Regions from separate parts of the Homo sapiens genome. Here regions 1 and 2 are each linked to region 3. The links are contacts of gene promoters, found by promoter capture Hi-C in blood cells and fetal thymus (Javierre and others, 2016). All regions are on one chromosome and are shown on one strand. Each heading gives the region's core, a stretch centred on a gene start or on the middle of the fragment in contact. The rest is flanking DNA. Distances are from core to core; before and after follow the strand shown. Region 1 has its middle 6.1 kb from the start of YARS2. Region 2 overlaps LOC729291 (a long non-coding RNA gene). Region 3 holds the start of CAPRIN2 (caprin family member 2).

The links. The method cuts DNA at HindIII sites, captures the fragments that hold promoters and counts their contacts. A CHiCAGO score of 5 or more calls a contact.
Region 1: a fragment that was not itself captured here is called in contact with the fragment with the promoter of CAPRIN2 in region 3 in 1 of 17 cell types (total B cells); the score reaches 5.5 in total B cells.
Region 2: a contact is called between a fragment that was not itself captured here and the fragment with the promoter of CAPRIN2 in region 3, in 2 of 17 cell types (naive B cells and naive CD4 T cells). The highest score is 5.3, in naive B cells.

Annotation. Positions count from the first base shown.
Region 1 is chr12:32,760,506-32,763,514 of GRCh38, reverse strand. No RefSeq gene overlaps it. Among named protein-coding and RNA genes, the nearest start is that of YARS2, 6.1 kb to the right of the region's middle. The HindIII fragment of the contact is 1,074 bases long and covers 1,144-2,217 here.
Region 2 is chr12:28,186,130-28,189,240 of GRCh38, reverse strand. LOC729291 (a long non-coding RNA gene) reads left to right here. Exons shown (of 1, transcript NR_148936.1): 1 at 1-3,111. Among named protein-coding and RNA genes, the nearest start is that of CCDC91, 2.8 kb to the left of the region's middle. The HindIII fragment of the contact is 3,286 bases long and covers 1-3,016 here.
Region 3 is chr12:30,753,633-30,757,083 of GRCh38, reverse strand. It overlaps CAPRIN2 (caprin family member 2), which reads left to right and starts at 2,133. Exons shown (of 19, transcript NM_001385503.1): 1 at 2,133-2,333. It overlaps LOC645485 (a long non-coding RNA gene), which reads right to left and starts at 2,010. Exons shown (of 2, transcript NR_135046.1): 1 at 1,813-2,010. RefSeq lists silencers at 605-808, 1,900-2,579 and enhancers at 2,507-2,676, 2,680-2,759. The HindIII fragment of the contact is 2,894 bases long and covers 223-3,116 here.

The sequences.
Region 1 (3,009 bases), core at 431-2,930, 2.0 Mb before region 3:
TGACCTCAAGTGATCCGCCATCTTGGCCTCCCAAAGTGCTGGGATTGCAGGCATGGGCCACTGTGCCTGGCCGATGAATACATTTTTAACCTCCTCCCTGGTGTGGTGGCTTAAATAATGAAGTTAAAGCTGAGAAACAATAAATGGGACTTTTGACTACTGTGATAGCAAACAGGCATTTCAGAATTGTAGAGGTGAATGAGATTTTAGAATTCATCTAATCCAGCCCATTTACTTTTTTTTTTCTTTTCTTTTCTTTTTTTTCTGAAATGGAGTCTTGCTCTGTCGCTCAGGCTGGAGTGCAGTGGCGAGATCTCAGCTTGCTGCAATCTCTGCCTCCCAGGTTCAAGTGATTCTCCTGCCTCAGCCTCCCAAGTAGCTGGGACTACAGGTGCCGGCCACCATGCCTGGCTAATTTTTTGTATTGTTAGTAGAGACAGGGTTTCACCGTGTTAGCCAGGATGGTCTCGATCTCCTGACCACGTCGTGATTTGCCTGCCTCGGCCTCCCAAAATGCTGGGATTACAGGCATGAGCCACCGCGCCAAGCCCAGCCCATTTACTTCTAAAATGAGGACACCAAGGCTAGTGTGTTAAATGACTTATCTAAGGAGGAACAGGTAGTCAAGGTTAAGCTGAGATAGCTACTCATGTCTGTGACTCCTAGTCCCATGGTCTTTGGACCACGACTCAGAAGCACATTTTGTTATGGTTGTGAGGATGAAGGAAGTAATATTTGACTTTTCTGCAAACATTATGTAAATACAAGGTATTTGTTCCCCTTATGATGTTACAGAACATTAATGAGTGAGATGTTTCCAGACTTATTTCTCATTTTGGTAACTAACCAGTCAGTGCTTATAACAGAAAAACATAAAGTCCGTATTGAAGACACTGAGAAAAAAAGACAAAAATAGTTTTAATCAAAATAGAATTGCTCTACAAAACATAGAATGATTGCTTATTGTTTTGTTTCTTCTCCAATGGAGATATAAATTCACTTGGCCTTGATGGAGGGACAATGATGAGTTGATTGATTCACTTCTACTCTGTCAGAGAGACCAGAAAATTACTAAGGTAACTTGATAAATAGGAAAATTCCAAAATGATCTTCACTGAAGACATTATCCATTTGATCTAAGCTTTTCAGATGCAATCACAATAGTGTCTCCAAGATCCTCTTTCTAAGAGGGAAGCCTGCTTTTCTCATCACATTAGCAAACAGCCAGGCGGATTCGTTGCTTGCCAGTCATGGCTGAATTACAGTCCCGACAACATGGCCTGGGAAAGAACATGCTGGTAGGGGACTGCGGCGGCTATCACCAAGCTCAGAGCAGAAGGGGTGGATGTTGGGGAAAGGGTTCTGCGAGGAGAAAAATTCACTGCAGCAGGAGTGAAGGGAGACACAATTACATATTGAAAGGGGAAAAGCTGTTTGAATTCTACTCTACACCTCAATCACCACCCTCCTACAAGGGATGTCTTTCCCTTGGTCATATTCTCAACAAATGTTTCTCTCCCACAGCCCCCTCCTAATCTGCATGTTCTTCAACAGCTACCTAGGAGTCACTCTCTCTCTGCTCCAAAAATTGGGCGTGGAAAAGGAGCCCAATCAGAAAGAGGAAATGAAGAAAGAGGAAGTGAAGAATAAAACTGCTCAGAGAAAAATAACTTCATAGAATAATATTATCTCCATGAGGACAGGAATCTTTCTTTCATCCATGAATATATCCTAAGCCATTAGAACAGTGCCTGACTGATCAAATAATTCTAATAAATATCTGTTAAATGAATAAGCAAACATCTATGTCCTTAACCCACTAGAATGGTAGGAAATTGTTTCTCCATCATTATTAGCCTCCTTCCCGCTTCTAGGGTTTTACCAAAATTTGATCAACGTGCCCCAGGAAATAATATCTCTAATTTCCAATTGGTTCTGATCATTCTAGCCATCCTTGTTGGCCAAGCCTTCAGTGGTTCTCTGAGACCTCCAGCTGGCACTCAGGGGCTCTCCTGCCTCAAATGAAGCAGAGGAACCTTAGGCAAAGCCAGGAGCCCCAGGCTGGAAGTGTAGCAGGAGGTCGTCCCTTTGAGGCCAGGGAGCAATGCACAGCTCCTCTGGCAAACCAGGGCCATAGCCAGGGCTCCCTTGCCCAGGTTTGGGGCAGGGGCACTCTCTTTAAGCTGGAGAATCCTACCTCTTTCTCTTCTCTAAGCTTATTTCCTTAAACTTCATCCTATCTTAGGCTTTTGACTTTTGGAAACAAAAGTTACAAAGAGTTCCAGGATGACTCTGTATTCCTCCCCGACTTGTACTTTCCCCAAGGCACTGACACACAGAACTTGCTACAAATGGACAGTTAAAATGAAGAGAGGAAAATGAAAGATTTTTTATTTCTTTGTTTTTTTGAGACGGAGTCTCACTCTGTCACCCAGGCTGGAGTGCAATGGCGTGGTCTCAGCTCACTGCAACCTCTGCCTTCCGGGTTCAAGCGACTCTCCCGCCTCAGCCTCCTGAGTAGATGGGACTACAGGCGTGTGCCACCACACCTGGCTAATTTTTGTATTTTTGGAAGAGACGGGTTTTCACTATGTTGGCCAGGCTGGTCTCGAACTCCTGACCTCGTGATCTGCCCACCTCGGCCTCCCAAAGTGCTGGGATTACAGGCGTGAGCCACCGCACCCGGCCTGGAAAATGAAAGATTTTTAAACCCATAAATATCTCAAAACATTATCCAGCCATATGGTATGGGACCAGGTGCATAAAGTTAAGGCAATGCTGAGACCTCCAGGTTATTCCACTGGCTACAACAGCAGCCTAAAAGAAAGAAAGAAAGAAACTTGGGGTATCCTTCTCTAAACTCTAATATAGAAAGGAAATGCATATCTAGTAACATGTTTCTTTGTCTAATTATCCTCCTACAATCAGCATCTTAAAATAAGCTAATCTCTTATAAAAAATTTTTGGATGTTAATATGACCATCAGCTCAAAAAGCATTAAAGCCACTT
Region 2 (3,111 bases), core at 124-2,623, 2.6 Mb after region 3:
TTCCAGCCCACCCCCTTCTTTATGCATACAAAAAACATTTCTATTGTAAGAAATGTAATGCTTTCTTACACATATTTTTTTATCTGTCTACTAGACTACCAAGTCAAGGACCACTTCTCACTTGTATATCCAGCAATCTACTCACTTCTCATTTGTCTTTGTGTATCCAGCAGTCTAGCAAAGTGTCTAGTAGTTAGAAAAAAGGTATTCATAAATATTTCTTAAACTTAGTAAGGTTACCTTTATATTATTTTGTCTCTCATATCTCTTTCTGCTGGAAACCAGATTAGTTTCTGGGAGTTCCTTCCCATTGATGTACTTACATGTTCACTCTGTCCCGATATTCAATACTAAACTGTATTCCATACTAAACAGATTTATAATAAGTAACTAATATTTATTATTAATATTTGCTATGTGCCTGGCATTAGATTAAATATTTTAAATCCCATATATAACTTACCACAATAATTTTACAAAGTAGGTATATTAATATATTTACACTTTAGATGAGGTTACAGATTTAGGAAGTGTAAATTGACCAAGTGGATTTAAAGCCAGATCTGCCCAACAGAAGGGCTTGTTTATTCACTATAGCACATCACTTTGCTTTTTATATCACTTATTTATCAGTGAATTCAAATCCTACCAACTCCATGAAATCTTTCTTCCTTCCCCACAGTAATCTTTTTCTTTATAAACAATTCAGTGATTTTAGTATATTCACAGAGTTATGCATGCTTTACCACATTCGATTTTAGAGTATTTTCACAGCCCCAAAAAGAAACCCCATACCCTTTGGCCCCAACTTCTCCCTCCTCTCCCCAGCCCTAGGCAACCAGTAATCCACTTTCCGTCTGTATGCATTTGTCTATCTTGAACATTTCATATAAATGGAATCATGCAATGTGTGGTCTTTTGTGACTGGCTTCTTTCACTTAACATGTTTTCAAAGTCCCTTCATCGGTTGGGTTGTTTCAGCTTTTTGAATATTATGAATAATGCTCCTGTTGACATTCATGTACAAGTTTTCGTGTCAACATATGTTCTCATTTCTCTTGGATATATACCTAAGAGTGGAATTGCGGGGTCATATGGTAACTCTATGTTTAACCCCTTGTGGAACTACCACACTGTTTTCCAAAGTGGCTGTACCATTTTACTTTCTCACCAGCAATGTATGAGGGCTCTAATTTCTCTATTGTGCCTTTTCTTGTCTCTCTAGAACATGTGCCTCTCTTACTTTTCAGAATACTTTTTCCATGAGCCATCTTCAATTATTATTCTTTGTTGTACATGTATCTGCAAGCCCATTTTCCTAATAGTTTGTGACCTTCTGAGATGAAAAACATGGTGCCTGCCCTTAAGAGAATCACATCTAGAAAAATATACAATCAAATCAGATATTACAGTGATAATAAACACTGAAATAAAGGTTATTGCTAAAAGGTGGAGAAAGAACACCTCACTCAGCCTAGGTTAAACAGGAAGTACTTCTCATAGAATGTATCAAAGCTCAGGATTAGTCCTGAAGAATCTATTGGAATTGACCAAGCTAAGGAAAGACATGAGTATGCTCCAGAAAAAGGAACATATACCTTTGTATATATTTCCTTGTCTATGAACTGTGGAGGTAAGTATATTTTGCAGGTAAGCATACCATAGAAGCAAACATTGTGGTATGCAGGTATGCAGCAGGAGAAATGGGAAATGTAGATGTAAGATGATGAAGAGTTTTGTAAACTGTGTTAAGGAGTTTGAACTGTATCCTGAAGGTAATGGGAAATTGCTGAATTAGTTAAGCAAGGTTGGAGAAGAATTACTTCAGCAGCAGTATAGAGGAAGGATTATTGGGTAGGAGAGACGGGGCCAAGACTAGAAAAACAAACAAACCAGATAGAAGACATAAAATAACTAAAATGAGGAATTAATGACTGCCTGAGCCGAGATGGTACCCATGAAATTGGCAGAAAGGATTTTAAAGGCACATGGCCAACAAAAAAGGAGGAAAGAAGCCAGTCACGGTGGCTTATACGTGTAACCCCAGCAATGTGGGAGGCTGAGGTAGGAGGATCACTGGAGCCTGGGAGGTGGAGGCTGCAGTGAGCTGTGATTGTGCCACTGCATTCCAGCTGGATGACAGAGCAAGACCCTTTCAAAAAAAAAAAAAAAAGGAGGAGTAAGAAGAAGAAGAAAGAATTGAAGATATATTCCAGGTTTCTGGCTGTAGTCATCAAGAGGAAGATTGGGCACTTGGTGATAAGAATAATGAAACACTACAATGATGGTATCTTAGTTTGTTCAGGCTGCTATAGAAAAATACTGGGTAGCTTATGAATGCAAATTTATTTCTCACAGGTCTGGAGTCTAAGAAGTTCAAGATTAAGACACCAGCAGATTGGATGTCTAGTGGGGCCCTGCTTTCTGGGTCATAGATTGTGCCTTCTAGCTGTGTCCTCATGTGGTGGAAGAGACAGGGCGGCTCTCTGGAGCCTCTTTTATAAGGGCAGTAATCCTAGTCATGAGGCTTGTGTCCTCATGATTTAATCACCTCCCAAAGGCCCCACCTCCTAACGCTATCTCATTGGTGATTAAGTTTAACATATGAATTGTGGGGGGACAAAAACATTCAGACCACAGCAGATAGGTTGCAGGAATTTAAACTGCCATTGAAGTTTATGTGCTGTTGCAGTCACCCACAGAAATGAGATGAACCCTCACCCAAACTTTGGCTCCTATTTCAAGACTTAGCATACCACATATGCACCAACAGGGTATAAAAAGGTTTATTACTCACATAATGAGCCTTTCTAGGAAGAGTACAGCAGACCTCCTAAGCAGGTTTTAAAATGACTTGAGAGAGTAGGAGAAAAAGCTATTGGGATTTTTTTCATGGCTAGGACATGGCGCTTGGGTGAAAAAGCCCACACAGGGCAGGGACTGTATGGCTCAAATTTTCCACCAGCACCAAAATAGGAAATACCTATTTTGCACCATATTTGGATCTAGGCAAGCTTTCTCATCAAGTTGCCTAGATTCAGATATCATACAAAAGGGAACAGGTGAGGAGCCGGACTTAAAACTTGTTAAGAATCAAACATAAAAAATTAT
Region 3 (3,451 bases), core at 884-3,383:
TTTTTATCATATTTCCAATATAGTTATTCCTTGCTAAGCTTGGAGGTGGCATGCCACAGATACTGCCTCACAGTTGGCAAGAAAAGTCACGGTCTTACAGAAAATAGGGAGTGGGAGAGGGTAAAATAAACTAAACTCCTGACAAATAAAAGTTTTGGGGACATGTGCTTTCAAAGTAAGCCAGACTTACTGACTTTAAAGATCTCCTCTAGCAGAAAAGCTTTTATCTGAATCATCTTTTTAACTTGTTCAGAAGACATTGCTTCAAGAGTATCTACTGTGGTATGTTCTCCTACAAATGTCACGCCATACGTATACAGACTGTACCCTACTGGACTTGAAATTCAATTATTTTTGCTTTTGCATTCTTTCGTGATGCATTTTTATAATCCTTCCTGAGAAGTAAATCTGTATGGATTTATTCATTTAGAAGAATATCCATTTAGTAGAAAATTTAAAATTTACGGCCTCCTTTTTGCCTGACCGATTAGAAGGCAAACATTTCTTTCTTTCTTTCTTTTTTTGAGATAGAGTCTTGCTCTGTCACCCAGGCTGGAGTGCAGCGGCACAATCTCGGCTCACTGCAGCGTCCGTCTCCGGGTTTCAAGCGATTCTCCTGCCTTAGCCTCTGAGTAGCCATGATTACAGGCACATGCCGCCATGCTCGGCTAATTTTTGTATTTTTAGTAGAGATGGATATTCACCACGCTGGCCAGCCTGGCCTCGAACTCCCGACCTCAGGTGATCCACCCCGCCTCGGCCTCCCAAAGTGCTGGGATCACAGGCTTGAGCCACTGCGCCGGCAGGGGGCAAACATTTCATGATTAATCTGACTGAAATACCATTTTTAGGTTCATCATTAGCTCGGACTACAACTCAGGCTGTGCTGTAACTTTGTGTCAACTCATTGATCCAACAGTGTGTCCTTCACATTTTTTCTTATGGCCACTGTTTTTTGTGTTACCAAAGGTGAAGGCATAGCCTTCCTCTCCTCATGTTCAGCATCTTCTGCGTTTCTCTGTTTATAAACAATGAGAAAAAGGGAAAATCTAGTATTTCTCTGACCCTGAAGAACACATATGGGATTCAGAGATTCAAAGTTAAAATGCAACATTAGGGTACATTATGTCACCAGGGACCGAAAAGAACACGGATAATAGATGCCAAAAAAATGTATTAAGTAATGTTAAAATTAATTTGTGTGAAGTTGACCAAGGCTTTTAAAACTAGACCTTTGTTTCCTTGATTCTTCTTCTGAATTTTCTGTTCTTTTGCTAGTCTCAATATTTTTTATCAGAGCGTCAGGGACAATCAGGACCTAAAAAACTCCACTTGGTGTAATAAGTAAACACATGTTGGGGCAAAGTATTGCTGAGTGTGTGTGTGTGTTTCTTATTTGGTATCAGAAACACCTTCCTTTCCTCAATAAACTTTTACATATTTCCAGACTTTTCTCTTAATTTTATGTAACCTTACAAAGATTTTTTACAGCTTTCTCTGCGTGCCAGTCAATTAATGTGTGTCACATGAACAAATAATACGGCTTGAATAAACTCAATCCTATTATTGCAGGTTGCGAAGTCACCTACTCCGTTTTTATGGCGATGCTGATTTGGGGCATTCTGCTCTTACAGGCTGATTCCCCGGTAAGGAAACGGTGTTTTTTCCCCATCCTACTATGAAAGATGCTATCTGAGGGGCAAAGGCGCATCTGCATTTCACGACTACCCACTAGGCTACGACAGCCTCAAGCATGGCTTATCTGGTAGTTCCGCGAAGGGCTCGCTGCCCTCCTGGAGCTATTGGAGTCACCTGTTCAAGGTCGCGAAACCACCGGTGCCGCCGGCAATCAGCGAGGTCCAGCGGGGCTGCGCGGTTTCCGGCCTGCCGGCGTTCGGCGTCGCCTCGGCCCCACCTGGTGCCCCGCAATCTGCGCAAAGGCTGGGAGACCGCGCCCTCTCCCGACCTACCACCAGCCCAAGCTGGGCCCGGAACTAACACCCGACAAGCGCTGGCGGCCAGCTGCAGCCGGGAAGGAGCACCGGAAGGAGGCGGTGGCGGGGCGGCCGAGGGCGGAGCGGGCCGGGGCGGGGCGCGGCCTACAAAAGCCACGCGCGGCGCGGTGGGCGGGCCTGGGCGCGAGCGGCTGAGTCGGCTGGGTCTCTGGCGCCGCAGAGGCCGCGGGCGAGGACCGGGAGGGGAGAGGGAGGAGACAGGAGGAGGAGACGCGAGTGCGGGGTGGCGCCGGTCCACCTCCGCAGCGCTCCTGCCTCCCCCAGGCTTTGGAAGGCGGGCCCGGGCTGCGGCAGCGGCGGCCTCGGCTGCCTGGGGAGGTGAAGTCGGGCTGCGGCGGCCTCGGTCGGCGCGGCGGAGGGAGGCGGCTGACCCGGCGAGGGTGGGCAGGTCTGGGCGGCCGGCGCCGCTGCGAGGTGGAGGGGCGGCTTGGCATCCCCGGGGCGGGGCGGGGCTCCCGAGGGCCGCGGTCGGTGCGTTTTCCGCAGGTCAGCCTCCCCCGGGGCCTTGCAGAAGCGGCTTCTGCGTACCCGGGGCGGCTGTGGGAAGGGTGGGGGTCGGTGCCTGCAGGGCTCTCCGTGGCCGCTCGGGAGAGGTGCTCTTCGCTCAGGCTCCCCCGGAGACTTGAGGGGGTGCGCGCTGGCGTGCATGGGGCCTGTTCTGTCCTTGGTTTGGGGATGCTCCTAAGGGGGGAGAAAGGGATACCTCGGGTGCTTGGAGGTCGAGAGACGGATACGTAAGTGCGCAAGGGCCACTGATTAGGGCACGGGAAGGGCTCGCTAGAATGAGCTCTTAAACTGGTTGGGTGTAAGCGGTTTTGGGCTAGTCTAAACCAAACAACTGAGAATAAACGCGGGGTTCCTGCAGGTTGAGAGAGTACCTGTCTGCAAATGTCCAGTAGTGATGGATTGCCTTGTAGGCCCCAGAGCAATCGGGGAAGTTAGCATTCTTGTTCAAGAAGCTGCTGGTTCACTTAGAGCTATAAAAGAATGTTGTGAGTTTGGATTTTCTTCCAAACGTTCAGGATTGAGGTTAGGGCTGGTGGTGAGGGATCATGTAAAGAGGTTTGAGTGGCTCAGCCTTAGGTCCCGGTGTGGAAAGCTTATTCTTTTGGTGTCATCACGTGGCCATGGGAATTATTTAGAATGTGATCTGCCCTCATGAGAAGAAAGGAGCTCTGAAGCCGTTGCAGTTCTTCCTCCCTATGTGGAAAATCGAATTTCTGGAAACATCCTCCGTATTGGGAGATTTTGCCTATGTAAAGGCTATCCTTATTGGCTAGCGGCACTAATTACTTTAAAAGTAGGATGGAAGTACAAGTATCTCAAGCATCATTGGGTTTCGAGCTCACTTCTGTGGAAAAGAGTTTAAGGGAGTGGTCTAGACTTTCCAGGGAAGTTATTGCCTGGCTGTGTCCCTCTAGTCCTAATTTTATACT